Linked DNA regions of Homo sapiens: region 2 is linked to region 1. Evidence: promoter capture Hi-C in human tissues and cell types (Jung and others, 2019). All regions are on one chromosome and are shown on one strand. The core of a region is centred on a gene start or on the middle of the fragment in contact, and the rest is flanking DNA. Distances in the headings are between cores, read along the strand shown. Region 1 holds the start of CCDC179 (coiled-coil domain containing 179). Region 2 has its middle 190 kb from the start of MIR8054.

The links. Contacts are between HindIII fragments. The study calls those that stand out against the background at their distance.
Region 2: a fragment that was not itself captured here is called in contact with the fragment with the promoter of CCDC179 in region 1 in 1 of the 25 tissues and cell types used here (mesendoderm cells).

Annotation. Positions count from the first base shown.
Region 1 is chr11:22,857,958-22,864,764 of GRCh38, reverse strand. It overlaps CCDC179 (coiled-coil domain containing 179), which reads left to right and starts at 4,291. Exons shown (of 4, transcript NM_001195637.2): 1 at 4,291-4,388; 2 at 5,269-5,313; 3 at 6,739-6,807. The coding sequence starts at 4,344. All of the region lies in intron 3 of LINC02718 (long intergenic non-protein coding RNA 2718), which reads right to left. The HindIII fragment of the contact is 9,229 bases long and covers 1-6,807 here.
Region 2 is chr11:23,229,522-23,236,328 of GRCh38, reverse strand. No RefSeq gene overlaps it. Among named protein-coding and RNA genes, the nearest start is that of MIR8054, 190 kb to the left of the region's middle. The HindIII fragment of the contact is 3,622 bases long and covers 1,309-4,930 here.

The DNA.
Region 1 (6,807 bases), core at 3,042-5,541:
AGGATATTCAAGAAGCAATGTGCCAGCTTCTGGCAAGGGCCTCAGCTTAAAATCATGGCATAAAACAAAAGGGGGGCCAGGCGTAGTGGTTCACGCCTGTAATCCCAGCATTTTGGGAGGCCAAGGCAGGCGGATCACGAGGTCAAGAGACCGAGAACATCCCGGCCAACATGGTGAAACCCTGTCTCTACTAAAAATACAAAGAATTAGCCTGGTGTGGTGGTGGGCACCTGTGTCCCAGCTACTCGGGAGGCTGAGGCAGGAGAATCACTTGAACCCAGGAGATGGAGTTTGCAGTGAGCCAAGATTGCACCACTGCACTCCAGCCTTGGCAACAGAGTGAGACTCCGTCTCAAAAAAAAAAAAAAAAAAAAAGGGGGGGGGACAGAGGAGCAGCTGTGTCACATGGAAGAGGAAGCAAGAGGAGGAGGATGTGCCGGGCTCTTTTTAACCATCAGATCTTGCCGTAACTAATAGAATGAGAATTCACTCATTACCACAAGGAGGGCACCAAACCATTCCTGAGGAATTCACTCCCATGGCTCAAAAACACCTCACTAGGCCCCACCTCCAACACTGAGGGTCACATTTCAACACTAGATTTGGAGAAGACAAATATTCAAACTATATCACACAGGTATCATTGAAGGAATGCTTGTGGTTTAGGACCTGATGGTTGGTGCCACTTACTAAGCTGTTGTCTTTCAAATGTAAATCCATTCTTTCATATTCTACTTTGTGAAGGCAGGGTTGGAACTGTTCATATTTTATTTCTCTTTAGAGATAAAGAGCTGAAAATTTAGCCAACTGGAGTCCTGGAAGGTGTATCCAATAAGTGGCACTGGAAGGAGACTGGAAGGCAAGTGGAGGGGTTAGGATCTTGTTTGTTTGTTTATTTGTTTGTTTGTTTATTATGTTGCCATCCTAGCAATAAAACTTGACTTTGCAGTAGCAAATGTTTCTAGCAGCAGTTCTTCCCAGTTTCCAAGATCTTTCCACATTCCCAGAATTGGTTTTATCATTCTTCCTTATCATACCAACACCTGCCAGATACTGCCTGCTTCTAAGAAATCTCTATTCCCCAGCTCTGAAGGACCACCCCCCACCTCCCTCCGCCACTACCCTCCGCCACCTCCCTCCGCCACTACCCTCCATCCACTAGCTCAGATTGGCAGTGTTCCCCTCCTCAGAGGTCTGGTTCCTAGTTTATGGGGCTGCTCCTCCAAACTTTCAAACTCTGACTATCCCAGCCTCTTCCCCAGCCCTGTCATCAGGTAGAAAAGAATGAATTTATTGAGTGAGGACTTTGAGAATATAACTAGGATAATAGAGTAACATATTTCAAATCAATGTAGGTGAGAAAGTTTCAATAATTAGAGGTGTCAAAAAATTGAATGGGTTGGATTGAATTTTCCATCATTGATTTAATCAAAACAAGCTGAATTGCCATTAAATGAAGATATTGCCAAGGGAAGGCAGTGTCTTCATTTAGCGGTAACCCCCTTGGCAATATCATCATTTAGTGGCAATTCAGTGGGAGACTGGGCTGAATGATATCTAAGGTTCTTTTCATTTGGAGAATCTTACAATGTAATCCATAGTAAAATATAATCATAACTACCATGATCGATGACCACTACCTAACAGATACTGGATCCAATTCCTTATTTATATTATTTATAATGATTATAACAACCCTATATTGTTGGATATTATCATTCTCATTTTATAGATACAGAGAAAGTAATTGAGGATCACGCATGATAATTAATTGGCCAGGGTCACAAGAGTTTTCAAGTAGTTACAATAGGATTTGGGCTCTTATGGGTTGCACTACCAACTTCCTAATAAGTCTCAGACATGTGACTCTGGAATATTCTTTTATGCAGCCTTATGGTGCCTGATTCCTGCTAACCCTTTTGACTTTTTTCCATACAAAATATGGTAGGAGGAAAAGCAAAGAGATGTGATGAGTAAAACGTGATGACAACAGTTACACATTCATCAAACCCATGTTACTTATCTGTACACACTGCCATTTGGACATGCTGCACCTCTGTCATAAATGCACTCTCTTTAGCTACCTGGTAAACTCTGGCTACTCCACTCCACTGAGAAGGCTATTTGGGCCTGTCTTCAGAGAGCATTAGGGGCTCCCAAATGTCTGTACAACACAACATGTATTATTATTGAAGCTCACTATACATTTTCTACCTTTTTGTTTTTGCTAATCTATCTGACTGCCTTTGAGGGCAATAATTTATTCATTTTGTATGCATAGGACTTGGCATGATATGTGACAGTAGCATTCAAAACATTTTCTATAGTGTGTCAAGTCAATTCCTGGTTTGTGATAATGGGGAAGTTTATATGATTTTTCTACAACTTATTGCTCCCAGAGGGGAGTTTCAAGAAGAGCATGGATAATGATTTTGAACATTACAGTTGGGCAAAACTGTTTACTTTTTCTAAGCCTAACTCATCAGAAAGACTTTTCAGCAGTTTCTAACGTGATACAAAAATCATATGATAGAAACTGTCCATTGAATTCAGGAGAAAGATCATTTGATTAACCATTTTGAGAAAAGCACCAGTGGAACAGTGGGAGTTGAAACAGGTTTCAGTAAGCCAAATCTTACACTGAACATAAAGAAGAGGCAGAGGTACAGACCACTCTCATGAATATTTACTTTATATAGAGGGGATGGGCAATAGATACAATTGGTTGTTGTTCTAAGGAGTTTCCTTTATTAGTTTGGAGAGGGGGAGATTTGAACTTACAGTAATGAAATGTTTAAAGGAAAGAGGCAATATAGAGAAGTTAACAAGGAGAGGAACAATCTGTAGAGCTAGATCTGAGGAGGCTCCTAGGAGGGAAATGGCATGCAAATGCAAATGGATAGATTTATTTGAGGCAACAGAAGGGATACCAATTTTTTTTTCCATTTCGACAGGGTTACAGGGAAAAGGATAATGTGGATATTGACAAGGTTATAGGATTTTAGGTGGTATTGAGGTAGCCCCAGTGAGGGCTTCAAAAGCAATGGTAGCATAGCACATAATTAGGAGCACATGATCTAAGGGCCAACCCTGGATTTAAATTCCAGCTCACCCTCTTACTAATAGCGTAACTTCAAGAAAGCAATTTAACATGCTAGCGCCTTGTTTCCCAGTGATTATAATCATGCCCTTACCCACCTTGAGTGGTCTAAAGACTTGATCAGTTAACACATATAAATTCATGTAACAGTGCTGAGCATAGTAAGCTCTATACATGTTCACCAGCATCAGAGTGTGAAGCACGGATTGTCCCACTTCTACTGGAAGTGCCTGAGTGTTGGTGGATTCAGAGATTTTAATAGAAGACAATTTGAAGGGAATACTGCAGAGCACAAAAAAAGCTGGTGCAACATAAAAGTCTTAAGCAGCTTTGAGGACCCAGTTTAAATTGGGGGTCACGGCCGGGCCTGGTGGCTCACGCCTGTAATTTCAGCACTTTGGGAGGGCAAGACGGGTGGATCACCTGAGGTCAGGAGTTTGAGAACAGCCTCCAATATGGTAAAACCCTGTCTCTACTAAAACTACAAAATCATTAGCCAGGCATTGTGGCATGCGCCTGCAGTCCCAGCTACTCGGGAGGCTGAGATGGGAGAATTGCTTGAACCCTCGAGGTGTAGGTAGCAGTGAGGTGGAGGTAGCAGTGAGCTAAGATTGTAGCACTGCACTCCAGCCTGGGCGACAGAGAGACTTGGCCAAAAAAAAAAAGAAAAAAGAAAATAAATAAATAAATAGATCTGGGGTCACAAATATGTATTCCAGCCATCTTCAAGCTTCTCCTCACTTCATCTGGTATAGATAGATGGGAAGAAGGCAGACAGTTGGGTCAGCCCAACTAGAAGCTGTGAAGGAACAACAATGAGGTGGTGGAATTGAGAACCCTAACAATAGATAGACAGTCTGAAGTAAGAGAACATGGAGACTAAGCTAGATATGTTAACAAATGAAAGGGGCTTTATAAAGAGAGAGACTAGAGAGATGAAGGGTAGAAAAGGTGGGAAATTGGTATTCTGCAATTTTCTGAGGAAGAAGGATAGGATATAAGGAATTATGGTAAACTGACTTCCATAACTCAAAGACACTGCAGACAACTTGAGGCCTTGCCTTCCCTGCACTGGACTGGAATACAACTGGGGAAAGGGTGGGGCCCATAGCAGGGAGAAGAATAAAGAGAATAGTGATGGAACTGGGTGGGGCAGGGCTTGAAGGCTGTGGGTGTGGGGCCCCATAATCATTTGGTCCAGGACAGGCAGTAGGCGTCAGGGGGCGCCCTAAGGCTCCACGGCATGTGCCTGTATTGCTGGGACATCGAGCCTTCCCAAGTCAACCCTGTGAGTCTGCTGGGGCCTACAACCTCAACTCTGCCACTCTGTCCTGTGCCTTGAGCTCCAGGCCACTGTGGCCTTGGCCATGGTGCTTCTAACTCTTGTAAATGTGGTTTGGTGCTGGGGGTTGGGAAATTCCAGGTGATGTAGACAGACTACATCCTGACTGCTGGACCCCTCTGAAACAAGAAAAAGCTCCACCCACTGTGTGCTTAGGGGTCAGGTACATCACCTGTATGTTGACTGCCCCATTGGCCTGCCCTAGGAGGTGGAGTGGAAATTACAGAAGTAGGGAGCAGGATAAAGTTCTCAATTGCCAGATGTGGAACAGATTGCTCTTGGGTCTTCTGGTTAAAAGATTGGATCAAAACGAGTGAAGGAGGAGTTATTTAAGGTACAATCAAGAAATAGAGGAAGTGGTGAGAATCTCGAAAACTAACAGCCAAGCTCCCTGTGCTTCAGAAAACCATACGATCTCAATCACATCACCAATTACTCCTAGGCTTTGAAACCAGATTGAAGACTAGATTGCTCAATAGCACCACTGAAGTCCTGTAGAAGCAGAAACATGCATTTTTCGATTTCTCGTACATTCTTTCCCTCCCGAATATATCTCTATACTCTGCCTTTTATCTGTAAGGTGGTTCACAGCTGGTTCTTTTTTATCATAATATCGTCTCCATCTTCCACCACAATTTTTATCTTAGATGTTTTTATTCTGAACTTGACTTTTTTCTTTTTGTTTTTTTAACCTGCTTCTTATAGTTGAAATGATTCATATAATACATAAATTTAAAAGTAGCATAGGCTTCCTATTATAATAATTAATTTACTGTTTTTAATGACTTTTTTGTGTGAATGTGTTTTAATTTTGTTTATTATATAGGAAGGACCAAGACAACATCATCCTTCAGAGGTCACTGAGCGGCAGGTAATGTTTAAATAAAGAACTAGGTTCTGGTTGTTTAAACATTGTGCTTGTAACTTGTTCCTTTATGTAGTGGTCCCTAACATAATAGAACTTGTATTAAGTAGACACTTCAGTATATTTCTTGGGACTCTGGGATCTAATGACTACTATTGGAATGGGTCTTAACTAGGGTAAACTAAATGGCTTATGTTATTTTTTAATGTAACATTTGACACATATACAAAAATAGATGTGGCAGATATAATTTATAAATTACAATATGCCTCCCATTTAAGGATTAAAATATTAGGTATTTCTGAATCCAGCTAGGGAATGCTTTTCTATTCTACCTCCTAAGGTCTCTCCCAGAGGTGACCTCCATCTTGAATTTTAGCTACATCAATCTCTTCCTCTTCTTTAATAGTTTGTTACATAGGTGTCTCTATAAGTGCACTATTTGCTTTTGCTTGGTTTTGAACTTTATAAACATAGGATCACACAAAATTTAGTGTATGATTTACTCTTTTTTCTCAATATTATTTCCTAAGATTTATCTACATTGCTGTATATAGTTTCTTTATTTTCACTGCTGTTCAATATTTTGTCATGGAACATATCACAGTTCATTAATCCTTTCTCTTGTTTATGGACATTGTGTTATTTTTACATTTTCCTAAAATGAATAGTACTATTGCAAACATTCTAGTACACATCTTCTTGCCCCATGCACAAGAATGCCATTTGATTATTTAGGCAGGAGTGTAATGGTTGAATCATAGGAAAAGCAAATTTTTTATTGTTAGAAAGTAGTGCCACACTGTTTTCAAAGCAATTGTTCAAGTTTATATTCTGTTATCAGTGGATTTTTTAAAAAGTTGGTTTTCAAAGCAATTGTACCAATTGATACTTCACTGGAAGTGGATAAAAAAGTTATTGTTATTCATATCCTTTCTATTCTATTACTGTATTTCATTATCTTAAAAGCATTCTAGTTTGATCTCCTAGGTATCTGCTACTTGTAGACGCCACACAATGGTGGCATAAAAAGCTATGTGTGTCATGCAACATTTCAAAGGAGTGAATAATTGTTTTCATATTTCTATAGAGAAAATTCCCTAGGTGTCCTTAATGAACATTATTTTTAAAGCAAAAGTAAGCACACTAATCCATGAGTCTGGATCTACTTAAGTGTATGCAGTGGTAAGATGAGAATCAAGAATAGTCTTATTTGAAAACCCTACTGATGCTCCAATGTGGTTTTCTTCACCTATGAACCATACATTTGAATGAAAGAGATTTTTCGCCCTATTTCTATGTAGTTATGTGAACCGTTTGCAGTGGTGGTGTTTACCTTTTTTATTGACACAAACCAAAAATGTAATCAGAATGTTACCTTTATATGTTACAAAAAAGTATGATTTTTCTTTCATTTTAATTTTTCTAAAGCTTGCAAATAAACGTATTCAGAATATGCAACACCTAAAGAAAGAGAAGAGGAGACTGAATAAAAGGTTT
Region 2 (6,807 bases), core at 1,870-4,369, 370 kb before region 1:
GACTTCTGATACTCAAAAGATTGTGTAGAATCTACTTCTCCCTGTGTGTCATCCCTAAGCACCACTAAAAATCCTGAAAACAATGTGAGACAGAAGCAAAGGAGAGCTCAGAAGGATGATAAGAAAAAGGCAAACTGGATGGAGCTCCAGGATTTAAGAACGCAGTGGAAGAGCATCTTATGTCCCCACCTCCACAACACAGAAGCATCTCAAAGTGGGTGTTTTTCACCACCCAAATCTGGTAACAGAAAGAAAAAAAAAACAACTTACGTTTTCTTTTCTTTCCCCACCAGAGCAAATGGGAATCTCCAATAATATGGAGCCAGGGAAAGCACTCTTCTTCTCTACTAGGCCTGAGAATCCCCATGCCCCCTCTTAGGGGTACAAAAGTGAGGAGTGGAACCAGTGAAAGAAAACAAGCCACAGCAAAGAAAAACTAAAGAATTTGTCACTGGTGGACCTACTCTTAATGACTGGCTAAATTAAGCTTTTTTGAGTATGAAATGATGTTATAATTGTGTTTCAATCAGGAAATAGAGTTAGTAAAACTCATAAGGAAAAAGCATAGTGATTACCTGTACCCCCCTTTTGGCTCTGTTGTTTCTTCTTCTTTCCTAATGCTGCAATCACTATGCTTTTTCCTTATGAGTTCTATTAACCCTATTTGATATTGAAAAAAGGACATTTTAAAAGTGGAGGAGATAAAATGACCTAAATGGATATGAGATTTTTATAATTGTGAAGAAACGTTGATATAAGTACACTGTTATAAGTCACAAATACATATTTTAATACTCAGAGCAACCACTATGAAAAGTATACAAGAGATACACTCAAAAACATAATAAGCAAATAAAGATGGAATCCAGAAAAAAACCTTTCAAGTGACCTACAGAAATACAAGAAAAGAGAAGCAGAGAAACAGCAGAATGAGAAACAGAAGAAACTAAAAGAAAACAAGTTATAAAATGGCATAGTTGAGCACTAACATATCAGTAATTAACTAATATGTGAATGATTTAACAGATCAACAAGAGACAGATTGGCAGAGCGGGTAAAACACATACACACACACACACACACATGCACACACACACATGCACACACACACACACAACCTAACTATATGTTACTCACAAGAAACTAACTTGAAATTTAACAACATAGATAAGTTGAAATAAAATGTTAGAAAAAATATACCGTGCCAACATGAATCAAAAATAAAAGCAAAATATTACAGCCCATGAAGGTCAAAAAATAAAATAAAAGCAAAAGGAGTCATATGAATATCAAATAAAGGGGACTTCAGAGCAAAGAAAATTACTAGGGACAAAGAAGGACATTATATAATGATAAAATAATCAATCCGTCAGAAAGACATATGGGTCCTAAATGTGTACACACCAATGGCTGAGCCTCAAAATACATGGAGCAAAATACATGGAGGCTGGTAGTAGAATAAATAACTACCCCCCCTCCAAAAAAAATGTACACATTCTAATCACAGAACCTATGAGTATGGTACCTTGTTTAGTGAAAGAGACTTTACAAATGTGACTAAAGATCTAAAATGGGGAAATCATTATGGAATTACCCATGCAAGCCCATTGTAATGACATGTGTCCTTATTAAGAGGGAAATGGAATGGTGAAAGGCTCAATAGTTTCTAACTAAGAAATGAACAGGAAAAAAATGTCTATTGTAATCACTATAGTTCAACATAGAACTGAAAGTACTAGGCACTGCAATAAATCAAAAGAAAGATATAAGACATACAGAAGTATCCATTGTTTCTCACTATAAAAGGAAGAAAATTTTTTTCTCTATTCGCAGATGACACAATTGTCTATGTAAAACATCTCAAGGAATGCTTTAAAATTTTCCTACAATGAATAAGTGAGTTTAGCAAAGTCACAAGTGTTTCACATTTCTACTAACAATGAACATATAAAAACCGAAATTAAAAACATAGTACCATTTAAAATCATGGCAAATAAAATTAAATATTTAGGAATATAATTATCAAATTATGTACAGAATCTGTATGCTAAAAATTACAAAATGTAGTGAAAGAAATTAAAGAAGATTAAAATAAATGAAGAGACATATCATGCTCATAGATTGAAAGCTTCAACATAATAAAGTTTTAATTCTCTCTAAATTGATGTCAAGATTTATTGAAATCCTATCAAAATCCATTCAAATATTGTAGATATTGACTGGAGTATTCTAAAATTTATATTGAAAGGCACAGATCCCAATGTAGCTTAAATATCTTTATAAATAAGAATAAAGTGAGAGAAATCACTGTACCAGATATTCCAGCTTATTATATAGCTTTGGTAATCAAAACGGCCTGGTACTGGCAGAGGAATAGTCACATTATAAATAGAACACACTTTAAAACCTAGAAATATATTCATACAAATATAGTCAACTGTTTTTTGGCAAATATGGAAAAGCACTTCAATAGAGGAAGGGTAGACCTTTTAAAAAATGGCACTAAAGCAATTGAACAACCATAGACAAAATATTGAACCTCGCCAGTGTTTCACACCTTATACAAAAAAACTAAAATTAATTATGGAATTAAATGTAAAACATACAATTATAAAACTTAAAAAGGGGGCAAAATAATTGCAATTCAGGAAGATCTAAAGAAAGAGTTCTTAGACTTGAAACCAAAAATATAATTCATGAAAGAAAAAAATGGTAAATTGAACTTTAGTAAAGTTTAAACTTTTGCCCTGTGGAAGATTATGTTAAAAATATGAAGAGACAAGCTTCAGACTAGTAGAATACATTTACAAGCCATATATCTGACAAAGAACTAAAATGTCAAATATATAAATAACTCTTGAAACTGAACGATTTTTTTAAAAATTAAGAAATACGCAAAGGATATGAACAGAACTTTTGCCAAAGATGATGCACAGATGACAAATAAGCACACAAAACATGTTCAATGTCATTAGCCACTAGATAAACGCAACTTAAAACCACAGTGAGATATCACTAATATCCCATCAGAATGGCTAAAACTAAAAAAAGATGGCAAATATTGGCAAGGATATGGAGAAACAAGATTACTCATACAATGCTGGTGGGACTGTAAAAATAAAAGAGTAACCCTGGAAAACCATTTGACAGCTTATTATGAAATAAACATGCAATTCCCATATAACTCAGCAATTATATTATTGGGCATTTATCCCAGATAAATAAATACATGTACTAGAGGCCAAAAGAAAACTTCCCCATCACCCTCTGAAGGGTCACTGAAAAATTAACTTACAAAAAGCAGATTAACAGAAGAAAGACCATACAAATGTATTAATGTGCATGGGAAACTTATCAAAATAGCAAACTGTAAAGAAAAAGAAGATAGCTGACACTTTTATACTGTAAGTTCTCAGAAAATAATGCCCCAGAATGAAAGCTTCAGGAGTAACTCTCTCTGAACTCATGCCCTTTTGTCTTCAGCTTTTTGCCTCCTTGAGACTAGCCATAAGAATTAGAATCATTCTTCTCCAAGGTGGATCACAGAAACCAGAAACCCTTTCACCACAAATCAGCCATAAAACCTAAAAATATTGCTCCAATTTCAACATCACAACAACCTTTCTGTGTATTAATTGGTGAAAAATAAGTTATCTGTCCTACCTTGTTTGATTGTAGGATATAAGGACCCCATTACAGAGAGGGTCTTCTCCATACCCAGAAGAAAGGAATGCTACACAGAGAGGCCAAGAAAAATCTGAACAGACAGGCCTTGCTGGATTTTCCCACTCAGTCTATCAGTATTAGATCATACCCATTTTTTTCTAGTCATAGCTCTATACGGCTGCCCATACTTCGTTAAACCTAGCACAAAAATGGACAGTTTATCCTGTATCTTTGGGTCTTCAATGTGAAAGCTCCTGTAAAATTATCATCAAATAAATTTGTGTGGTTTTCTGCTATTAACCTGTCTTTTGTCAATGATTTTTCAACAAACCTTCAAAGGGCAGAGGGGAAGTTTTTTCTCAGCCCCTACAATACCATCTTGAGGCTACAGAAAAAAATGTAAGTTTAGATTGTGACAAAACAGGTTATGGTCGCAAAACAGGTTATGGTAACAAAATGGGTTGTGGTGTCAAGACAAGTTATGGGAAAGAGAGAAGAAGAGGCTTGGCTTCCAAAGGTGGTCTTGCTATGTACATGAAACCTTACAGGTAGCAGCCCTCAGAGAGAATAGATGGTAAATCTTTCTTTCAGACCTTTAAAGGTGTCAGACTCAGTTCATCTTTCTTAGATCTTGACAACGGGGAATGTCAGAGAAAGCCTGACTACATCAACGCAAATTTTCTCTACAAATGCAAATACCCTCCACAAAAGACAGCTTTTCAGATGTTGCTGCTTTTCTAGCCTTTCTGAATAGCCATCTTAAAATATTTTAGGGTAAAATATTTTGGTTTAATGTTCATACAAAAATCTGGTGTTTATCAAGAAACCACTAGCTGTAACTAGAGTGCTTTAAAAGCACTAACTCATTTAATCTTCACAGCAATCCTATGAGATGGGTGATCCTTTCCCTCATTGTACAAATGAGAAAAATTTGAGAAAGACTGTCTTGAGGCTCAGAAACCAATGCCTCAAAATATGGCACTATAACATACTGAACTTAAGAAGCCTCAAGGTCTCCCTGACTTCCCCTCCTTTTTTCTATCTCTCAATCTTCTGTCTATCCCAAAGCACAGGAAGAAGTTGTTCTCTGAGGTTTCCTCATCTGCCTAAAGTCTAGACCTGCAAAAGAAGACAACATGTACCTCTGATCTCTTCCCAGAGTTTTCATTAACTGAGCTCATATTGCAGGAAAAAAAGATCCTTCCATAGGGTCTGCTCTTTGAAAAGTTTGCTATTTTTTAGTTAATTCCACAATGTCTTCCTTATAATTTCATTACTTCATTGAGGGCTTATATCAATAACTTTGGAATAAAGCTCAGCAAAGACTTGAACTTGTCTCATAAGTTTGGATTAGGGTTTGTTCAAGGGCACAACACTTCTACAAAACAAGTTATAAATTTCCATCTTATCTAATTCAAGCCCACTGAATTTCCCTAAAAATTATTTACTATCCCCCTAAACTTATGCAGACTTCCCCATATCCCTTTCCCCTAAGAAGAAGGGTATATACCATCTATGCTCCATTGCGTGGTGGGGAAATCCTCTGTGAGTTTCCCTCTATGCATGCTAATACATTTGTATGACTTTTCTGCTATAAATCTGCCCTTTGAGTATTGATTTTTTATCAAACCTTCAGAAGGCAAAGGGAAGTTTTCCCTTGGCCCTATAACTGCATAACTATTAAGCCAGGATTTGAAAGTAGGCAGACAAGGCTCAGAGCTCACACACGTTGGTAATGCTTTACATTGCCTTCTTTCAATTAGTCCAAATATTGTTTTCCTCTCCCTGATGTCGTTAGCAAGCAATTCCATCATTTACTTTAGCATGCTCTAGACACGTATATGTCCTGCAAGCAAAATAACTGACAAATGAATGTCCAGGAGCAAATGGTGAGAAATTCAAAGAGCTCACATGACTATAGAGCATTCCCATTTGTAAACACGAGCACAGGCTATGGAGCCAGACACATCTGAGTTCAAATCTTCACCATTCTCGGTGACTGTATAATCTGCATTAGTAAGGACTACTTATGTTGTGTTTAGAAAGTCAACTTTTTAAATAAAGGGTTTTATTAGAAACATACTGATGCTTCACAGGACCAGGAGGCAAAGATACTAGGCCGACTCCAGCATTTCAGGGACTAGAATAGGGGATTTGATATCATTAGGATGCTCTTTTCTCTCCATCTTTTCTTTCTTTTCCTCTTTCTCTTCAAACCATCATGGGGCATGGAAAAAGCACCTAGTTGTTCTGAGGCTTAGAATTAATGGAATTGAAAAAATGGGGGAAACTTTCTTCTTACCTCCAACAAACATAGCCAGTGAAATGATTTTGAATGCCCCTCCTTTTCCATCCAAACAGTCAATTCGTGTGAGCAAAGGAGTCTACTAGCATTTTTCAAAAGGGGAAATCTATCCTCTGAAGGATGGGAATAGTGGGAATTTGCCAAGGAGATAAACACAATAGCTACCAAGATGTCTATTGTTTTAAAAATTTAAAGTCATTTAATTCTAGCTATGTCATATATTAAATTATACGTAAAGCAACTGGCACACTAAAATGCTGAACAACTACTAGATTTTCATGTCCCTTCCCCATTTCTCAGAAGTTCAAGACAACATTCAACAAAGAAGAGGAAATCACTAGGTGAGAATGGTGTAAAGAGGTGGAACTACATGCTTTTTCCTGCTCTTCCAAGGCTTGAACTAAGTATCATGCACCAAGAAACGGACCAAGAAGCCACCATTCTGTGAAGCTTTTCTTTGAGCCTTTTGTCTGAGTTTATATGTGGACAATTGGAGTTCCATCATACTAGTTACAGTTATTGATTTGCATGTCTTTCTCCCTTGATAAAAAGTGAACTTCTGAAAGGCAGGAAGCATGATTTATTCATTCTTGCATCCTTCATAGCTGTGGCTGGCACATGAGAGGTGCTCCATAAAATAAGTAAATGAATGAGTTCAGGTACCATGAATTTATGACTGTGGTTCAGTGTTTATTGAACTGAATATAGACAAGTGATATTGAGACTTTATGATTTGTCAGGCATGGTCCTAAGTGTTTTGTATCTATCATCCCATTTGATCTTTATAATACTTTGAAATATTTTTCATTCTTCTCTTCCTCTTGCCTCTGTGCTTT